Regions from separate parts of the Homo sapiens genome. Here region 1 is linked to region 2. Evidence: promoter capture Hi-C in 16 types of primary human blood cells and fetal thymus (Javierre and others, 2016). All regions are on one chromosome and are shown on one strand. Each heading gives the region's core, a stretch centred on a gene start or on the middle of the fragment in contact. The rest is flanking DNA. Distances are from core to core; before and after follow the strand shown.

Region 1 (4,283 bases), core at 479-2,978, 720 kb after region 2:
GATTCAGGGGCTGCCAGTGGTGGGGGGGCATACACTGCAACAGAGGTAGGGGCTGGGAGCAACTGGGCCTGAAGAGGATGCCCAGGGTTACCCTTCTCACCCTCTGTAGCTGTTCCAGGACCCTGCTGGCATCTGCCGCACTGAAGTGGCGGGCCAAGACTTTGGAGATCAGCTGCCAGACCTGCGGGGGTGGGGAGTCGGCCAGCCTCTGGGCCTCGCCTTCTTCTAGTAGCACCTTCTCCAGGGGTTTGACCACTAGGTTGAGCTTGGAGTTGGGCCCGATGCTATAATCCGAGAGTCGTTTCCCATCTGCCAAAGACAGATCGATGGGTTCCTCCTCCTCCACCGCCGTGGGGGTGGCCCGGGGCGCGAGGCCGCCTCGGGCGGCGGGAGCGGAGCGCTGCGGCATCCGGCTGTGAGGCATGCGGCCGCCTCCCTTGGGGTCATGTGGCGCTTGGCGCCCGCACCCCGACCCGACACACGGCTGCTGGCCTCGGCCCGCGCACCCCGGTCCCGCTTCCTGCGGGGCTCCCCGGGCGTCTCCTCTCCCTGGGTACCTGCCAGGGCCTTGCCCTTGAACAGCAGCCGCTGCTGGCGCACTGGGACGTTCAGCTTCTCGGAGACCAGCTGCTTCAGCGTGGACACCAGCTCGTCCTCTGGCACCTGGCCGCGCGGAGGGTGGGAGGCAAGGGTTGAGCCCGCGGCCCCCAGACGGCGAAGCCCACGCGTCCGCCCCCGAGGGCAGCTCTCCCGGCTCCCGGCCCTCGGCCCGGCCGCCCCGTGCCCGCCCTCGGCCCTGCCGGTCCCCCTGCCAGGAGCGGGCGAGAGAGCGCGCCGGACCCGGCGGCCCGGCCCGGGGACCCTACCTGCAGGCTGCACTCGCGGCCCTGCAGCGCCTTCACCGTCAGCTGCATGGCGGTCGCGACGGCGTCCACTCGGGCCGGCGCGCACCCCAACCACCCCCCGCCGCGCGCCGCCGCCCCGGGCGCGCGCTGGAACCGCCCGCCGCCGCCGGAAGCAGCGAGAGGGGCGCGCCCGCCGCCCGCGCTTCCCGGCCCCGCCCTCCTGCCCCGTCCGCGCCCCGGCCCCGCCCCCCGGCCCAATTGCGCCCCGGGAGGAGTCCCCCCGGGGTCCCGCCTAGCATGCGCGCATCGACCGCCCTGGCCGGCGGACCCCTCCCAAAGCAACGACGCGGGGGAGTTGGGAGCAGGAACCAGTCGGGCCAGGTTGGCGTCATCTGGGAGCTGGGACATGGAGAAGGGAGGGCCAGAAGGTACGCTCGCCCCCGCGGACTGCCTGGCCCACCTCACGCGCCAGGACTGCTGGCGGCGCCTGGCCCTGCATACCCACAGACGGCCCGCCCCCGCTCCCTGTCTGGTGGCTTCCTACCTCCTCCTTTCTGGTCTGGCTGCGAAACGCTCCACTGAGCTTGAGAGGGGGCAGGGGGGCTACGCCTCTGCCCTCATCCTCCCACCTCTCCCAGAGTGGGGACACCCCCGGGGAGGGCTGATAGGGAAAGCCTATGCAGGGGTCACCGTGTCACCCAAGCTGGCCCTCCACCCTGGTCCACACTTACCCAGCACACTCTTTCTACCCCCACGCCCAGGCCCCAAAGGGCAAAGAGTAGAAGGGACCCAAGCTTGCTTCTCTCTTTTATTGAAATATATTTTCTGGGCAGCGCCCACCTACCTAACTCAGCATGGCCTCTTTGGCACTGAAAGCTGGAGAATAAAAAATCAGTAAAAAAAATAAGCCTGGATTTTTCTGAGTGCATAGTGCATGAGAACTTTGGTGGAGTGTGGGGGCTGGGGCTGATGAAAGCTTGACCCAGAGGCCTCAGGGAACTGGGAACAGGCTGCTGTAGATGAAGTGGCCAATGACCAAGGCCAGCATCTCGGAGGTGCCGCTCAGCGCCACAATGAAGGGGGCCTGGGAGGCATAGTCAGCTTGAAGGCGGCGGAGGGATAGCTGCAGCATGGCCAAGGCCAGCAGGCTGTTCTGCACCCCTACCTCAATGCTGACCGTCCGCCGCTGGGCCACTGGCAGCTTCAGACACGTGGCTAGGCAGTAGCCCACCAACAGGCCAACCAGGGGCACCGTGATACCCACCAGTACGATGGGTAGCCGGATGCCTGCCAGGATGAAGACCCCCATGCGATAGGCCAGGAAGAGGCCGCCCAGGAGGAGCACAAAGCTGAAGGGCTTGACGACCTGCAGCAGCAGCTGGGAGAACTTGGGGAGCTTGGACTTGATCAGCACGCCCACGGCTATGGGGATGGCAATGAACAGCAGGGTCCCCAGGATCTTGGAGATGGGCACGTGGAGCGTCTCATGGATGCTGAGCAGGCGGCTGTAGATGGCCGAAGACAGAGGCAAGAAGCCAGTGGCAGCCACCGTAGAGAGGAAAGTCATGGAGATGGCCAGGGTGACGTCCCCTCCAAGAAGGAGGCTGAAGAGGTAGCTCCCCCCGCCGCCAGGCGACGAGCAGGTGATGATGAGGCCCAGAGCCAGGGCCTTGGGCAGCATGAAGACCTTGGCCATGAGGAAAGCGTACAAGGGCATGACCAGAAACTGGCCCAGGAGGCCCAGCAGCATGGGCTGGGGGCTCTGCATGAGCCCCTTCAGAACCTCGAGTTCCACTTTGCACCCAAACGAACACTTGTTGACAAAGATAAGAGGCAGGAGCAGGTAGAGGATTGGGTTTTCCGAGAAGTGGGCCAGGTCGGCGCTGAGGGTGGCAGGCGTGTCTTCAGCAGGTGAGACCTTGATGCAGAAGTCTCTCCGCTCCTCAATCAGTGTGGGCGGGGCCTCATGGGCGTCCACGAGCTGGATGTGGAGTGGGGCCAGCCCAGCCAGGCCTGAGTGGATGCTCACCACAAAGCCACCCCCGCCTCCCCAGGTTATAGCACTCACGTTCTTGATGGTCAGCACCTCTGTGTCCAGGGAGGTGACCCTGAGCATGGGGCCAGGCGCCGTCCTGTTGGCCTGGCCTGGGTACTGGCTGGAGATCACGATGATGCCCTCACTGTCCTCAGGAAACTCAAACTCCATCACAGAGCCATCTCCAATGCTCAAGTAGCGGCCCCCAGTCGGTGGCACGGTGTGACCCCCAGCAGTGCTGAGGCTGGTGCTGGCTGTCCCTTGGGCCCCCCATGGCAGGCTGATGAGCAGCAGGGCAGCTCTGAGCATGCTTAAGGGACCTGTGCCACCACCCTCGCCCCCCAGACCAGGCCACTGCTGAGAGCTGCCCTTGTCCTGCATTAACACCATGGCTCTTCCTGGAGGACGGATGGCGTGCCCAGGCCCTCTGCGGCTTAGGAGAACATCCCCACTGGTGCTGTTGGGTTGTCCTGAGAAGGGTTCATGGGTGGGTCCCAGTCCTGTGCTGTCTTCCTTGATGGCAGGGCTGTCCCTGAGGAGGTAAGGGACACAGAGAGGCAGCTGGTGAGGGTCACTTACCCTGGAGGCCTTGGTCCAGCCATGTGTCTTACCTCTGAAGAGGGAGGCAGTCAAGAACCCAGGAGCATGGGGATCTGGAAGCCCACTGCTAAGAGTAAAACTCAGCAGGGACCCTTGCCCCACACTCAGGAATGGAGAGGCAATGCCTAGTGATGGCCCTTGAGTGCCATTCAGCTGTGGCTCCCTGGCCCACTCTACCTGCCCCTACAGTGACTCGATGAAGGTCCTGCTGGGAAGCAGGTCCTCCCTCCCCAGGGAAGTTGCCAGAAGGGGCGGCAGGAGTGGATCAGACAGAGCCACATGTCTACTGGGGGGGTTTCTCCTCCTTTTGTCAGAGCTCCCACTGGGCTGAGACTTTGACCTCCCAGAGCCACTGCGTTACATCTGAGAGGCTGTGCTCAGAGTGCAGGGCTCCTTCCCATGCCCACATGCGCCCCTACCAGAGCCTCAAACTCAGTGGAATTATGAGTGTTTCTAGCGGCCAGCAACACCCCCTTCCACTTCTCAATCTGGGCAGCGACCACCGTAGTGTCACATCACCTGCTAGAACTGGGGCAACCAGGATGGAGACACAACAGCTTTACATCACCCCTGTCAGTTGCCTCATGCACTGTTGTGTCCCAGTCCTAGAAGAGGACTGCCTCTATAGATCCTATCCGTCTTTGGCATTGGCCTCCCGTCATCTGAGACTGGGGTGAGGCAGAAGTAGGGAGCAGAGGTTAGGTTAAGCCAAAGGCTCATCCCGGCGAGCCTCCCCTATCCCTAGCTTAGGATGACATGGCCTCTGCTGGCTTGAAGTTCGGGTCACTTACCCTGGAGGCCTT
Region 2 (4,489 bases), core at 1,533-4,032:
CTGGGCAACATAGCGAGACCCTGTCTCTACAAAAAAATTACAAAATTAGCCAGGCACTGTGGCGCCTGCCTGTAGTCCCAGGTGTTTGGGAGGCTAAGGTGGGAGGATCACTTGAGCCCAGGAGGCTTCAGTGAGCCATGATTGCGCCAATGCACCCCAGCCTGCACGACAGAGCGAGACCCCGTCTCAAAAAAAGAAATCAGATTGATAAATGCTATGATATTAAAATTAAGACTTTCTGTTTATCACATGATACATCAGCAAACTGAGAAGACAAGTAACAGGTAGGCCGAAGACATACACCCCAGGGATTGGTGTGGAAAATACAGAACACCTGCAAAGTGTAAGCCAAGACATGCACGGGCATTTGACAGAAGAAATGAAAAGTGCTGCAATATGGCCGGTGGTCAAGGAATGCCGATTCAAAACCCAGCAGGGCACCATTTCACACCCACTGTATGCGCAGAAACTCTCAAGTCTGCTCTCTGGTGTACGTGAAGACGTGGTGCAGCAGTGGCAGTGGGGGTGTCCGCTGGGATGCCAGCATGGAGAGCTACGTCTTCAGCCCAGCAAACGTGAAGCCCACGTCCCACTGACCCAACGAGTCCCCTTCCAGCATTGAGAAGCCTGGCACACAGCAAGGAGACGACACCAGATCAGTTGACGCTGCCTTCCCATCCCTTGGTGAGGGGACCCGGCCATTGCAGGATAAATCCAGCACGACTCCCCTGACATAAGATGTTCCGGTTCCCCAAACCAGCCTAGATCCTTTCTGGTTACACCAGCTTCAGACCAGGGGCTGCCATAGCCACGCCTCTTATCTGCTCAGAAAGCGTAGAAGGTGCATATGCAGGCCATATACACACATATTTATGAAAATGGTGCTGCCTGTGGATGGATTTATTTTCTTTTTTCTTTCTTTCTTTTCTTTTTTTTTTAAAGACAGAGTCTTGCACTGTCACCCAGGCTAGAGTGCAATGGCACCATCACGGCTCACTGCAGGCACCAACTCCCAGGCTCAGGCGATCCTCCCACTTCAGCCTCCCAAGTAGCTGGGACTACAGGCTCGCACCACCATGCCTGGCTAATTTTTAAATTTTTTTATAGAGATGGGGGTCTCACTATGTTGCCCATGCTGGTCTAGAACTCCTGGGCCCAAGTGATCCTGCTGCCTTAGGCTCCCAAAGTGCTGGGATTACAGGCGGGAGCCACGACGCCCAGCCTGATTTATTTTCTTCTGTGGAAAGGAAGGAGAAACCCATTCCCCATGCCAGATTGCAGGCGTCTGTCTCATCCGGGGCCAGCAAGGACATGTGTGTGTGTGTTGGGGTAGGCATGGGGGGAAGGACAGGGAGAGGGAGAGAGGCCAGCTGGCTCCCCCAAGCCTCCCCTCCTGGAGCTTCTAAATCCCTCCCTGGCTCCTTCAAGGCTGCCTGGCCTTCCTGTTGGGGAGAGACCCCTCGCCGGCTGCTCACTCGCTTTTTGGTGGTCCTTCCCACGGGCCTGCCTGGTCTGCCTCCACATCCTCAGCGGCTGCAGGTGAGAAGCTGTGGATCTGGGGCCCAGTGGTCCAGAGCGTGGCCCGTGCCAGAATGCCCAGGTTCAAATCCCATCTCTGTGGAATGCACTCTGAAGAAACGACGTCAGGTCATGGCCCTGGGCAAGTTACCCACCTCTGTGCCCCATTTCTCTCCATGCAGGTTGGAAAGAATGACACAGCTGCTCAGGGAAGCACCCATACCCCGAGTCTGCTGGGCCTTTGAGCTCCAGGGCCAACACCTGGCCCTATACCCTGGCCGCCCCCAGGGCTCCAGCCACCTGAGCCAAGCTTCTCACCCCCAGGCCTCCCCAGCCCCATCACCATTTCCTCCTCCCTCATGGGCCCCTCAGTCTTACCGTCCTCCCACTTCCGCCAGCCCCTCTGTGGATGGCCCTGCCACAGGGGGAACAGTGCCCCAGCAGAAAAGCCCCAGGGTCGCCTGGATTCTCCTGCCTTCGCCTCCTGCCCTGGGTCCAACGCACAGTCTTCAGAATGCTGCCTCCCCAGAGCGCCTCTAGAACGCGCCCGCCTCTCTCCATGCCCATGACCACCACTGGACCAGGCCTCCCCACATTCTCTGCCCCAGTGCCACCAGCTTGCAGTTGCCCATGGCGAGACAAGTTCAAGTTCTCAAGCCTGGCCACAAAGACCCCACCTGATTTGCTGACCTCCGCCACACCCTGGGAGACGGCCCTTGACCAACCTTGTGTTCCAGTCGGTGGGAAACACTGGTTTTTCCTCAACGCCACGTGGGCATGTCACGTCCAGGCCTGGCCTGGGGTAGGCCTCAGCTCCATCTCCTGCCCAACGCCTGCCAAGGTTCATGGTTCAAGGTCATGTAGCCTGACGGTTAAGTGAAGGGGCCCTGTGATTGACTCAGCCTTGCCACATACTAGCTGTGTGACTTTATTCAAGTTTCCTAACCTCCTGTGCCTCAGTTTCCCAACCTGTGTTTGTTTCTGGATGGTGCCAGTGCCAAGCCCAAGCCTGGCATCCAGTAGGTGCTTCGTGCCAGGTTATGGAATGCCCACCCAATAGGAGGGCGCTGCCGTCTCTCACCTGCCAGGTGCCCACGGTCAGTACTCCATCATGCCCGCTGCGGCCAGCAGAGGGCAGCAACATCCTGCCCTGTGCCATTGGGCAAAGGGGCGGGCGGAGAGAGGCTGGGCTGCCTGGCCGGGCTTGTTGGGATGAGTCGGACTGGGCACGATTGCATTGTGGGGAGGGAGGCTGGGGCTCTGTGAGACGTGCTCCTGGCACCGCCAGCTGCTACTTGGCCCTCGCCGGTGGCCCACCAGGTAGGCAAGAGCTGGGGCAGGCTTGGGCTTGGGCTTGGGGTGCAGGGGCTACCAGCCTCAGGGCAAGGCATCAGGGTCTCAGGGCCAACTGGCTGGGGTCAGGCAAGAGCGCTCGGGTGTCGGCCCAGCCTGACGACGGCACTAGGTGTCTGGGAGCACGGTGTCCCCCAAGTGGTAGCCCTGGGGTTAGGAGGTGGGGAACCATGTTTCTTCCCCGAAATGGGAAAGCCAACGCCAGCCTCGGGCAGGGTACAGGGTAGAGAGGCTGCCCGCCTGGCTCCCCACCCCCACAGCCACCCAACTGGCCCAGCCAGGTGACAGCAGCCCACTGCCACCTTGCCCTGGAGCCTACTGCTGCCGTGCTGTGGGGGAGGCAGAGACCCCATCCCCAGTGCACCTGCTCCTGTGCCACTGGCCAGGGTGGCCTGTGAGGGTGACAGGGGGTCTAGCTGCTAGGTGCCCCTCCCTTCCCCATCCCCTGCATGGATGGCATCTAGGCCAGCAGGACGGTGCTTCAGAGGGTGGGGTGGACAGCCCCGGCCTGTGGACCCTCTGCCTCAGCCCATCTCAAGCAGCCTCCTCCCGTGGTCCTGCTCGCTGCCACCATGCTGTACCTGGCACCACTTCACCAGTCCCCAGGGGCAGGGCTGGGCTGGGGGTGTGGAGGAAGATCTTTTGGACAAAGGCAGGCATTGAGGGCCAGGACTGGCACTTCACCCAGGCCCCAAGGCTACCAGCCGGCATTTGCAGGGGCTCCAAGGTCCACCCCGTGCCCTTCACAGGGACCCGGGGAGCCAGGGAGGGGCATGCTTAGTGACACAGGGGTTGCAGGGCCAGAGGGGGAGGGCTGGCTGGAGGAAACCCCGGCCCTTTGTCCCCGGATCCCGGGGGTGGCTCCCTGAGGGTGGGAAGTGGCAAGGAGCCCCCTGTCCAGAACAGCCCAGTGGGGGTGACAGCACTAGCGAGTGGGGCCCTGGCCTGGCCTCTGGACAGAGGGAACATTGTTGTGGTGGAGGCAGGGCTGCCTTGGCCTGGCCACTATTGACAAAGCTGCCAGCTGTGAGGGAGCCCGGTCGCTAGGCCCTGGGCGCCACCCCCACCGCCGCCCCTCCTTCCCCAGGCCAGCTCGAATGGGGCTGAGCCTCGACTGTCTCCCTCCCACTCAGGACAATGCCCCCCCGCAGCCATCTCATGCCCATCGCCACTGCCCTGGGGCAGCTGAACTGAGCGTATGTGCCACGCCGCCCAGGAGACCCCTCTGCTGCACCACTTCATGGTAAGTGCCCAGGCCCGGTGTCCCCAGAAATGTTCCTGGGAGGGGCAGGGTAGGGCAGGATGGCTGTGGCCAGGCCCAGGACATACAGGCTGCAGCCTCCCTCATGGCAGACACTGCCCCAGATAGCCCGGGGTCCGCAGGAAGTGTCCGTGCTCTTCCTGCCTGTGTTCCTGAGATAAGCGGCTCCTGGGCCTTCCTCCAGGCGCTGCTCTGCCCTGAGTCGCAGCGGCCCCACTCCTGGTCGGCATGTGACCACACACCCAGGGCAGCATCTCTCTGTGGAGGGCAGGAGGGGCCAGAGAAGGGGCTGCTCCCACCTCTCACCCTCGGGGGCTCACCCCGGGGTCCCACCAGGCACACCCAGGAACCATCTCC

What was found. Contacts are between HindIII fragments. The CHiCAGO score rates a contact against its expected background, and 5 or more counts as called.
Region 1: a fragment that was not itself captured here is called in contact with the fragment with the promoter of PLXNB3 in region 2 in 1 of 17 cell types (total B cells); the score reaches 5.5 in total B cells.

Annotation. Positions count from the first base shown.
Region 1 is chrX:154,485,671-154,489,953 of GRCh38, forward strand. UBL4A (ubiquitin like 4A) reads right to left here and starts at 945. Exons shown (of 4, transcript NM_014235.5): 1 at 867-945; 2 at 558-663; 3 at 101-309. The coding sequence starts at 914. It overlaps SLC10A3 (solute carrier family 10 member 3), which reads right to left. Exons shown (of 2, transcript NM_019848.5): 2 at 1,641-3,412. The coding sequence starts at 3,270. The coding sequence ends at 1,837. RefSeq lists enhancers at 1-392, 393-1,151, 1,489-1,548 and silencers at 329-478, 969-1,228. The HindIII fragment of the contact is 182 bases long and covers 1,638-1,819 here.
Region 2 is chrX:153,761,467-153,765,955 of GRCh38, forward strand. PLXNB3 (plexin B3) reads left to right here and starts at 2,783. Exons shown (of 36, transcript NM_005393.3): 1 at 2,783-2,838; 2 at 4,005-4,114. The coding sequence starts at 4,070. PLXNB3-AS1 (PLXNB3 antisense RNA 1) reads right to left here. Exons shown (of 3, transcript NR_199696.1): 2 at 2,244-2,383. The HindIII fragment of the contact is 7,823 bases long and covers 1,827-4,489 here.